2 separate regions of the Homo sapiens genome follow, and region 1 is linked to region 2. The links are contacts of gene promoters, found by promoter capture Hi-C in blood cells and fetal thymus (Javierre and others, 2016). All regions are on one chromosome and are shown on one strand. Each heading gives the region's core, a stretch centred on a gene start or on the middle of the fragment in contact. The rest is flanking DNA. Distances are from core to core; before and after follow the strand shown. Region 1 has its middle 4.1 kb from the start of ADA2. Region 2 holds the start of CECR3 (cat eye syndrome chromosome region, candidate 3).

Region 1 (5,034 bases), core at 21-2,520, 44 kb before region 2:
TGGTGGTGCGCACCTGTAATCCCAGCTACTTGGGAGGCTGAGGCAGGAGAATTGCTTGAACCCTGGAGGTGGAGGTTGCAGTGAGCTGAGATTGCACCATTGCACTCCAGTCTGGATGACAGAGTGAGATTTTGTCTCAAAAAAAAAAAAAAGAGTTTAACACTAATTTTTTGAAAGTTAGAGGAAGCAGAATGCACCGCAAGTAATAAGGAGAAACAAGATTGATTCCAGCGCCGCACAAAGGGAAACCACCAATTCTGAAAGTAAATCATGTGAAGGGTTTTTTGTGGGTTTTTTTTATACTTTAAGTTCTAGGGTACATGTGCACAATGTGCAGGTTTGATACATAGGTATACCTGTGCCATGTTGGTTTGCTGCACCCATCAACACATCATTTACATTAGGTATTTCTCCTAATGCTATCCCTCCCCCAGCCCCGACCCCCCCGACAGGCCCTGGTGTGTGATGTTCCCCTTGAAGGGTTTTTTTAAAGACCAGGTCAAAGCTAAAGATCAAGCTTTTCTTTCCAAACGCTTTAGCTAAAAGTAGGAGCTAATTTTCACATCTCCGAAGGTGGCTCCAGGACTCCAAGTCACACCTTGGCAAGGGTGTGGCAGCTGGCAGAGGACTGCAGGTCCTTGTCAGGCAGAACCTGCCGGGTTCTGGGGAGTGGAGACTCAGATCTTGAGGTGGAAGCAGAGACAAGAGCTGGGCACACTTACCTGGATGTGGGGTTGGGAGCGGTGAATCAGAGCCCAGTTAGATCCTGGAGGCTGGCAGCAGGCTCTGCAGAGGTGCAGGGGCACCTCATTCAGAAGGGGCCATTTATTGGCCCTCTGTGGCTAAAACCAGCTCCAAGCAGGACTTTTTATGGCTGGAGTCGCCTCCAAAGGGGCGTCGGCCTCCACTCAGGTGTGACTCTGAGCGTTGCCTAGCTGAAAAGGCGTGATGATAGGGAGCACACGTGAGGCCATTCGGGAAGAATATTTTGCCAAGTGCAGAGGCCGTAAAAACGTGGAACATGGCTCTGTTTTTTATGCTCTATTGAAAATGATCATCAGAAGCAGAAACTGGGCTTGTGTTCAGAACCTGAAAATCTGCAGGGCAGAAAAACAGGACAAAGGCATCTTTTAGTGACTGCAAAACTAAACCTCAACAGAAAGATGCCTGAAGAGACAGGTGGATTATGACCTCAGAATTGGAGACAGGAGAGGTTTTCAGAATTAAAGATCATCTATGGCTACACAAACATTTGAGAGGTATTTTCATTAAAACATCCCTTTCTTCACACCAATATCATGAATTATATGCTATGCACAACCTATAACAGAGTATAGCAGAGTTACCAGTGGTTTAAAGTGCTGCATATATGATTGTTATATGAGGTAAATAAGATTCTCTGACCCAGAGTTAAGAAAATGGAAATAATAATTGCTAAGGCATATTAAGAATTATATATGTATGTGTGTGTGTATATATATATATATATATATATATATATATATATATATATATATATAACATTTAATCCCTACAGCAATACATACCTATAAATGAGTATATACAAATATGTGTGTGTATGTGTGTGTGTGTATATATACTCATTTAATCCTTGCAGCAATCTTATAAGGTAGGGACTATTGCAATCCCCACTTGAGAGAGGCGTACCCTGAAGCACCTGGCAGTAAGGTAACTTGCCCAAGGTCACACAGCTAGTAACAAGCATAGCACGGCCTTGCAGGCCCAGGTGGGTTCCACCACACCGCTTTCCCTGGCAGCAAGAAAATGGAAGGTTTTTGAAGTAGTGGGGGAGTCACCGGGCACAAGGAAGCAGATCCCTGGAGGAACACACAATTAGCAAAAGTGGAGCCCAGGAATAGACGTTACCAGGCATAAGTGATTTTTCCAGACACTGGGAACTTGTGTTTTGAAACACCAAAGTATTTTTAGGAAGCAGAAAAGTTAGCTCTTTCATTGAACTGCTATGTGGTTTTGAAGAAAATGTCCTAATATCCATAAAACTCAAAGCTTTAATCTGCAAGAAGGAAAAAATGTCATGTGCCTCCTACTAAGTTTTTTTTTTCTAAGTAAGTTTTTTGTGTGTGTGTATGTATGAAATAATATATGTGAAAATTTTTTTTTGAGACAGAGTCTCGCTGTGTCACCTAGGCTGGAGTGCAGTGGCACAATCTTGGCTGTCTGCAGCCTCTGCCTCCCAGTCTCAAGCAATTCTCTGCCTCAGCCTCCCGAGTATCCAGGATTACAGGCACCTGCCACCATGCCTGGCTAATTTTTTTTTTGTATTTTTAGTAGAGACGGGGTTTCACCATCTTGGCCAGGCTGGTCTTGAACTCCTGACCTCGTGATCCACCTGCCTCAGTCTTCCAAGTGCTGGCATTACAGGCGTGAGCCACTGTGCCTGGCTGAAAATATTTTTAAAACTATAAAGCAACTATACAATTACACAGCATAAATGATTTTCATTTTTCTTTTTTTTTGAGAAGGAGTTTCACTCTTATTGCCCAGGCTGGAGTGCAGTGGCATGATCTCGGCTCACCACCACCTCCGCCTCCCGGGTTCAAGTGATTCTCCTGCCTCAGCCTCCCGAGTACCTGGGATTACAGGCATGTGCCACCACGCCTGGCTAATTTTTGTTTGTTTGTTTGTTTTGTTTTGTTTTGTTTAGTAGAGACGGGGTTTCTCCATGTTGGTCAGGCTGGTCTCCAACTCCCAACCTTAGGTGATCTGCCCGCCTCGGCCTCCCAAAGTGCTGGGATTACAGGTGTAAGCCACCGTGCCCAGCCCAGCATAAGTAATTTTCCTTGCACAAATCTTTCTAGTATTTTTTCTGGCTTCTTAGGGTGCAGTGAACATAATTTGATCTTTTTTGAGGACTTGGTATCATTATTATGAGCATTTATCATAATACTTTCTATTGCTATTGCATTATCACTCTATTTCCAATGCCAGTGAGGTGTGGAGCTTTGTTTGCCCCTGTCCTAAATGGCTTCAGACTGCTCTGCTTGTATGTATTTTTATATAATTTTTCTGTCCCTTCCTATGCAGTTCACTTGTCATTCTGGGTAGGTCTAAATTCCAGCAATCCTCTCCCTCTAATGCTTTACTTCTTGTGGTCTAGGGACTGAAGAACAAGATACTCCAACAGTACCAGTGAGAGCCCCTTCAATTGCTCTATGAGTTGGGGCATATTCACAAGTGCATGGATGGATTCTCAATTAGAGATTGCAGGCTGAACACATGAATTAACCTTAGTTCCTCTCCAAAACCTGCACTAAAATGACAGTGGGGAAAAAAATTAAGCATATATTCACAAGGTTGAAGAAAGCAAGAAAGGAGAAAATAGCAAAAAAAAACTTGGAAGATGGAAGGTACATAAACAAGTGCTAATAATTTAGAAGACAAAAAAACAAACAAACAAACAAAAAAAACAAACACTGAATCTGAAACCAGCAGTGACGAAAGAAACCTCGGATACCTGTGAAAGTGAGGCTGAAGGTAAGTCCAAAGCAGGAGAAATGGAGGAATGGCTGGAAAGCCTTTTTAACAAAAACCTAGAGCCACAGACATTCCTCCCACTCCCTCTTCAGCAGAGCAGTGAAGATTTGTTTTCAGGGAAAGGTAAAACAGAGTTTCTGGCCTAGTTAAGGATGGGGTTATCATACTAAAAATGAAGACTTTTTTTAAATTTTGCATATTGAACACTGAGTCTTCCAAGCCTTTCTCCCCTATTAGTCTCCCAAACATCAGCAACTTATATCCACAGTCAAGAAGAGGGAAAAGCCTTCTCTAGGGCTTTATCCAGCCTCACTGGAAAGACCTAATGATATTTAAAGGGATGTACCAGGTCACGATCTAGTAAAACTCATGGCAACATAGCTTCCTCCCTCCCTGCCCTTCCCACATACAAAGAGCTTATAACATCCTTTTAGTACCCTACTCTTAAATATAAGTAGACAGCCAAGAGTTACTACCTTTGAGAAATACTATTTTATGACAGAGAAAGAGCATCTCAGAAGAAAAAGAATAAGAGGGAGAAGAAAACTTTATCTAAGATTATTAGCCTTAGAGATATAAAAGATGTTATGCCCACAAAACAACAACAGGATTCTATAGAAAAGGAATAGGCAAAGAATGAAAAAGATGCTCTGGGGCCAGGCGCGGTGGCTCACACCTGTAATCCCAGCACTTTGGGAGGCTGAGGCGGGTGGATCACAGGGTCAGGAGATCAAGACCATCCTGGCTAACACGGTGAAACCCCGTCTCTACTAAAAACACAAAAAATTAGCCAGGCGTGGTGGCGGGCGCCTGTAGTCCCAGCTACCTGGGAGGCTGAGGCAGGAGAATGGCATGAACCCGGGAGGTGGAGCTTGCAGTGAGCTGAGATTATGCCACTGCACTCCAGCCTGGGCGACAGAGCGAGACTCTGTCTCAAAAAAAAAGAATGAAAAAGATGTTCTGGAAACAACAATAAGAGACTAAAAACGAAAAACAACAAAAGAGTTGAATGGTGGCTGGGCGCAGTGGCTCACACCTGTAATCCCAGCACTTGGGGAGGCCGAGGCAGGCTGATCAACTGGGGTAGGGAGTTCGAGGCCAGGCTGACCAACGTGGAGAAACCCCGTCTCTACTAAAAATACAAAAATTAGCCAGGCGTGGTGGCGCATACCTGTAATCCCAGCTACTTGGGAGGCTGAGGCAGGAGAATCGCTTGAACCCGGGAGGTGGAGGTTGTAGTGAGCCGAGATCATGCCATTGCACTTCAGCCTGGGCAACAAGCGTGAAACTCCATCTCAAAAAAAAAAAAAGGGTAGCCGGGCGCCGTGGCTCACGCCTGTAATCCCAACACTTTGGGAGGCCAAAGCGGGCAGATGACCTGAGGTCGGCAGTTTGAGATAGGCCTGGCCAATATGGTGACACCCCGTCTCTACCAAAAGTACAAAAATTAGCCGGGCGTGGTGGCTCGTGCCTGTAGTCTCAGCTACTCGGGAGACTGAGGCAGAAGAATCGCTTGAA
Region 2 (5,300 bases), core at 2,042-4,541:
CACTATTTCCCTTTTTGACCTAACCACCAGGCAGCTCGGAACCAACTTTTAGGTTCAAATGTTGCAGCACTTCCTTGAATCCTACTTTTCTGATGGGCTTATTCCTTAGCCCCAGCTTTCTCTAGACCCTGGATCTCAACCTTTAATCTGGTTTTGGGGTTTCTGGCACTTGTGCCATTAATGATAAACTGCCTTGAATCTTTTTGGATACACTGAACATATGTGGTGTGTAAATAAACAAATGAACTATAAAATACAAACATGCACAGATAAGAGTGAAGTCAGAGCCTTTAGAGTGCGCTACGCCAGGGCGGCAGCATCCCTGGTGCCCGGTCAGCGCCTGGCACATCATAGGAGCGCAATCAACAGCGGGTGACACAGAATGGCGGCAGAGAACATTTCACCTAAAAGAAGGCTTCTCCACAGAGCACACCAGGACGGACCCCCAGAACCACTGGCTGGCTGTATCCCACCTTCAGGTTCTTGATTGGAGACTCCTTCATGTATCGTTCACTGATCCTTGTGGCTGAAAGTCTTGTTGCTCCAGCCAGATGGCAAACTACACCTCAAGGACAGACACTTGTCATACATGCCTGTGTCCCCCAGAGCTGCACCCAGCACAGAGCTGGTCACAAAGTGGCCTCCCCAAATTTCTGTGGCTTTAGCCTAACAAACACCTGCAATTCCTTATAGCTGAACAAAGATGAATGACCCTAACCCGTTCAAGTCAGGCTGGACTCCTTCCACTCTGATCATACATTTGGTTTTACAAAGCGCTGAGCGACAGGAAGAAAGAATGGCTCTTACTGGCCGAGTTGAAGGGCTTCGAGCACATTTTTCTCAACAGCACAATCTGGCTCCCTGACACAAAAGGCAGGGAAAGGAAGGGGCAGCGGCTCCCAATGAACAGAGACGGATGGCGGCCGGGCCTCTGCCGCCACTGCTGTGCCCACTGGGCAGACCAGCCACATCTCCTGGCTCAGGCCAAAGACTAGGGCAGATGACACATGGGGTACTCACAGGAGAGCTGTGCTCAGGGCTTCCTGCTGGCCCCGGAACCTTCCAGAATGGCCTCTCACACACTCCCCGCCCTCCCTCCTTCTCTCTGTCTCTCCCGGAACCTTCCAGAGTGGGCTCTCACACACTCCCCTCCCTCCCTCCTTCTCTGTCTCTCTCTCTCTCTCAGTGAAAGGACTTCCTTGGCAAGAGTGTCAGGTTTCAGTTGTCTGTGTCCTGGGAAATTACAAGATCTTTCCCCTTTCTCTTTTTAGCTAGGATTACACATGCAGAGCCATTTGGCTCCCCTGGCCTGCGCAGCTGCTGCCGGCCGGGCCGGGGGATCATGCCAGGCAGCCCAGCCAGAGGTGAGCTGGGTCACAGGGGTGAGCTGCCAGGCCTGCTCACCCCTCTTCTTGGTGTGATCCCCTCAAGTCCAATCCCCAGGGACCTTCCCCAGGAATGCTGAGAGCACCAGCTGTCCCGGCCATGTCAGGCATCTGGCCACCAGGTCTCCTTCCACTCCAGGGGCAACCACCGCCAGAGGGAAAAACGGAAACACCAGGTTATTTGTGATCTGCATACTCACTCCTCGTTTAGAGAGACAAGCAGGAGGCCAGGGGAATAGATGGGACTGTGGGAACAGCCAAGGGCAGAGGGTGAAGGGCGGCGATCAGAAGGAAAGACGGAATGCCCACACATTCCCTGCCGCTCCCGGCTCCAGCCGTGGAGGAAGCGGGGCTCGGAGGACATTGCACCAGACAGGTCTTGTTTAGAAAATTGGAAAAGAACAAATATTGATTACAAGAGTGCAGGAGAATGGGCCCTTCCATCATCAAAAACAGGTATTCAGCCAGGCGAAGTGACTCACGCTTGTAATCCCAGCACTTTGGGAGGCAAAGGCAGGAGGATCGCTTGGGCCCAAGAGTTTGAGACCAGCCTGGGCAGCATGGTGAAACCCAGTCTCTACAAAAAATACCAAAAATTAGCTGGGTGTGGTGACGTGTCTGTGGTCCCAGCCATTCGGGTGGCTGAGGTGGGAGGATTGCTTGGGCCCGGGAGGTCGAACCATGTTCACACCATGGCATTCCAGCCTGGATGACAGAATGAGACCCTGTTTCTAATAATAACAGTAATAATAATAATAAAATACATACTCACTAGCTATGACTCTGCTTTACAGGATAATTGGGGCAAAAATGTTCTTGGGTGAAACTGGGTAACCTAATTTGAAAGGTCTGGGAAACATGGCCCAATTTCAGCCTCGCTCGCCACTCACAGGCCAAGTGGAGGTTGCGGTTCATAACATACTGGACACTAGACATCACTAATGCCTTCATTCTACAAATGGGAAAACCATGGCTGAGAGGTCACCTGATCTCCCAAGTTCACTCAGAGACGTGGGGATGGGCCGAGCTCCAGAGCCTGGGCCTTGCCCTGCTCCACCCCATACAGCACGAAGTTCCCTGGCCAACTAAGGAAGGAGTGCAAGGTGACTGAAGAAAACAAAAACAAACAGAACTGACACAAAAAACAAACAAACAAAACTGAGTGCCAAAGAAGGAGAATTTGGGGGCTGAGGCTGTGGCTGCAGAGTGGGAGTGGGGATAATCAACGCTGGGCTCCTGAGTGTCTCTGGAAGGGCGGGCCCTGGTGTCCAGAGCGCCTGGTGCCCACCTTCCCCTTTCCCCCAGGGCCCCTGTCTGAGAGCTCTTCTACCCACTCCTGGCTGCTGGGGCACCTGATATTTTCCAAAACACAATTTTCACACCCTTAATAGTGGGCTGCGGAGGAGTCAGGATCAGAGCCTCTAGCTCAGATTTCCTTCCCTGAAAGGATACGGTCTTAGAAACTGCATGCTGTGCAGAGTCCTATCATTCAGAAGAAACACAAAACCCAAGCCCTGGGGAGTCACGTGGCCACCACGGATGCCCCGGCCTCGGACTAAGCTAAGGGCATTAGCCCGGGTGGCCTGTAGCTGCTCTGCAGCTCTGATCAGTCCTACAGACACATGGCACCCCCCACCTGTCACCTTTAGGACCCTCCAGTCAGGCCCCCTTAAGATGCAGTGTTCCCCATGCTCACCTTTGAGGCTTACTCTGCTGCTAAGGAAACAGCATGCAACTTCCCAGGGTTATGAGAAATAATTTTCCTAGGAATGTCACCAGCTGCAGACGCCCCTGTCATAAACTGTCCCAGCTCTAAGCCGCCTAGGGCTTTTATCCCCTCCTCTTAGCTACTCATTACCCAGCTTAATTAGGCCAGGAAATGCTGGCGCTGAAGACACTCTCGGCAGGAGGCAGGGCTGGAGGAGAGATTCTCAGCAGCGCCACTTCCTGAGGCTTGATCTGGGGGCTGGGGAAGGCTGTGGAGGAGGTCGGCTGGGGATGGCAGGCTGCGTCCTCCAGTGAACAGCTGCTGGGAACGAAGCAGGGATGCACGCATTTGCTCCCCAGGCCCTCCAGGGAGCTGAGGGTTGCACTTGTTTACGGTAACAGCACCGGATCTGAAGGCCTTGGAAGGCTCTGCCTGCCCCCACCCCAACCCTCCCATCTCAATTAACCAGCTTCACCACCCCACCCCCACTCTTTCCTAGGGAAGAGGTTGAAACCTCAGTTACCACTCACAATATTTCAGCCCCAACCCTGACATAATCACAGTCAAAGACCCAGCCTGAGATGCCTTCCATTTTCAGCCAGCCCCTGACCTTCACCCTGAACCACCTTGGTCATGCACAACCTCCTGGTTCTTCACTAGGTGGAACACAGGAATGGGGTTGCCTGCTATAGAGCTGTATGTGCTTCACCCAGTTTTGGAGCTTTCTGCTCCAGTGGCGTTGGAAGGGGAGTAGCAATGTTGAGGGTTCATAGAATGGGGTTTATATCAGACAGATGGGGGTCTAGACTGTAGCTCTGCCCCAGGTCATTCTGTGACCTTGAATATGCTATTTCATTTTTCTGCACCTAAGTTTCTTTAGCTGCAAAAATGGGGGTGCTAATATCGGCTTCTTGGGAGGTTGAGATGATCTTATATCCTTATAGTAGACACAGGCAAATGTTCAGTAAGAAGTGGCCGGTATCTCCGATGTGGGGCACTAGTTCAGAGGCCTGCAGTTACCAACTTTTCTTTGCTGGGAGGTATGGAAAGGGGAAAACTAGTATTAATGAGATCCCGCTATCTGTGGAAGGTATTCATACTTACACGATTTTCCTTTCATTTCCCAATTATCTGTGGAGGCTTTGAGATTTAAATGAGTAAACTGAGGCTCGGAGAGGGTAGGAGGGTGAGTCATGCCTCATGAGTGGCAGAGCAGATCATACAACAGGGCTACGGCAGATGCCCAGGGCTGCTGAGTCTGGGACTGCTTCGTGGCCTGGAAATGTCAGAATGACACCAGTCTAGGCCAGGCGCAGTGGCTCAGGTCTGTAGTCCCAGGACTTGGGGAGGCCGAGGTGGGCGGATCACTTGAGGTCAGGAGTTCGAAACCAGCCTGGCCAATATGGTGAAACCCGTCTCTACTAAAAATTCAAAAATTAGCCAGTTGTGTTGTTGGGCGCCTATAGTCCCAGTACTCAGGAGCCTGAGGCACAAGAATCGCTTGGACCCGGAAGGCAGAGGCTGCAGTGAGCTGAGATCAAACCATTGCATTCCAGCCTGGGCGTCAGAGCGAGACTTATCTCAAACAAACAAACAAACAAAAGAATCACACCAGCCTAGAGCGAGTAGGATGACTAGAATCTCAGCAGCCACAGCACCAGGTGGATCATCGCCCTGGAGAGGGGAATATGAGGGCTGAGTCACAGTGTCATCCAAAAAGGACTTGTCAGCCTCTGCAGAGGCTGCCTCTCACCTGCGGAACACGTACCCACTGTGCTGTAAGTCCTGGAGCAATTTGCTTCAGCCTTCTCAGGTGTATGGTTTTATGCCTTGGCTTTTCCATTGTGTCCACATTTTCTCAGAAAATGCAAACTTCTTGAGAAGTGACCTCATTTCCCTCACCTGCAGCAAGACAAACGTAATTCTTGGCACTCAGATATGCAATAGTGCTGTGATTTTAACTTTTCTATGTAACTGTAACTTTGAAAAGTACTCTCCCATTCCACCAAGCAAAAAAAGAAAAAAAAAAAAAAGCCCCAGGGCAGGGGTGGAGGGATTGGGGCGTAAGGGGAACCTCCAATTCCATCCAGAGGAGGGCACTAGTCCATCTGCTCAGGCCCTCCACACATCGAGGTGCTCCTAGGTCCCCAAGAAAATCTCTTGATCCACCCAAAGAATCCCAAACTACTGACCATTGGTTTCCAAGG

What was found. The method cuts DNA at HindIII sites, captures the fragments that hold promoters and counts their contacts. A CHiCAGO score of 5 or more calls a contact.
Region 1: a fragment that was not itself captured here is called in contact with the fragment with the promoter of CECR3 in region 2 in 8 of 17 cell types (non-activated CD4 T cells, monocytes, total B cells and 5 more); the score reaches 6.6 in non-activated CD4 T cells.

What each region holds. Positions count from the first base shown.
Region 1 is chr22:17,221,005-17,226,038 of GRCh38, forward strand. It overlaps a transcript of ADA2 not described here. Among named protein-coding and RNA genes, the nearest start is that of ADA2, 4.1 kb to the left of the region's middle. The HindIII fragment of the contact is 1,511 bases long and covers 516-2,026 here.
Region 2 is chr22:17,263,442-17,268,741 of GRCh38, forward strand. It overlaps CECR3 (cat eye syndrome chromosome region, candidate 3), which reads right to left and starts at 3,292. Exons shown (of 3, transcript NR_038398.2): 1 at 3,082-3,292. RefSeq lists enhancers at 88-914, 915-1,741. The HindIII fragment of the contact is 21,393 bases long and covers 1-5,300 here.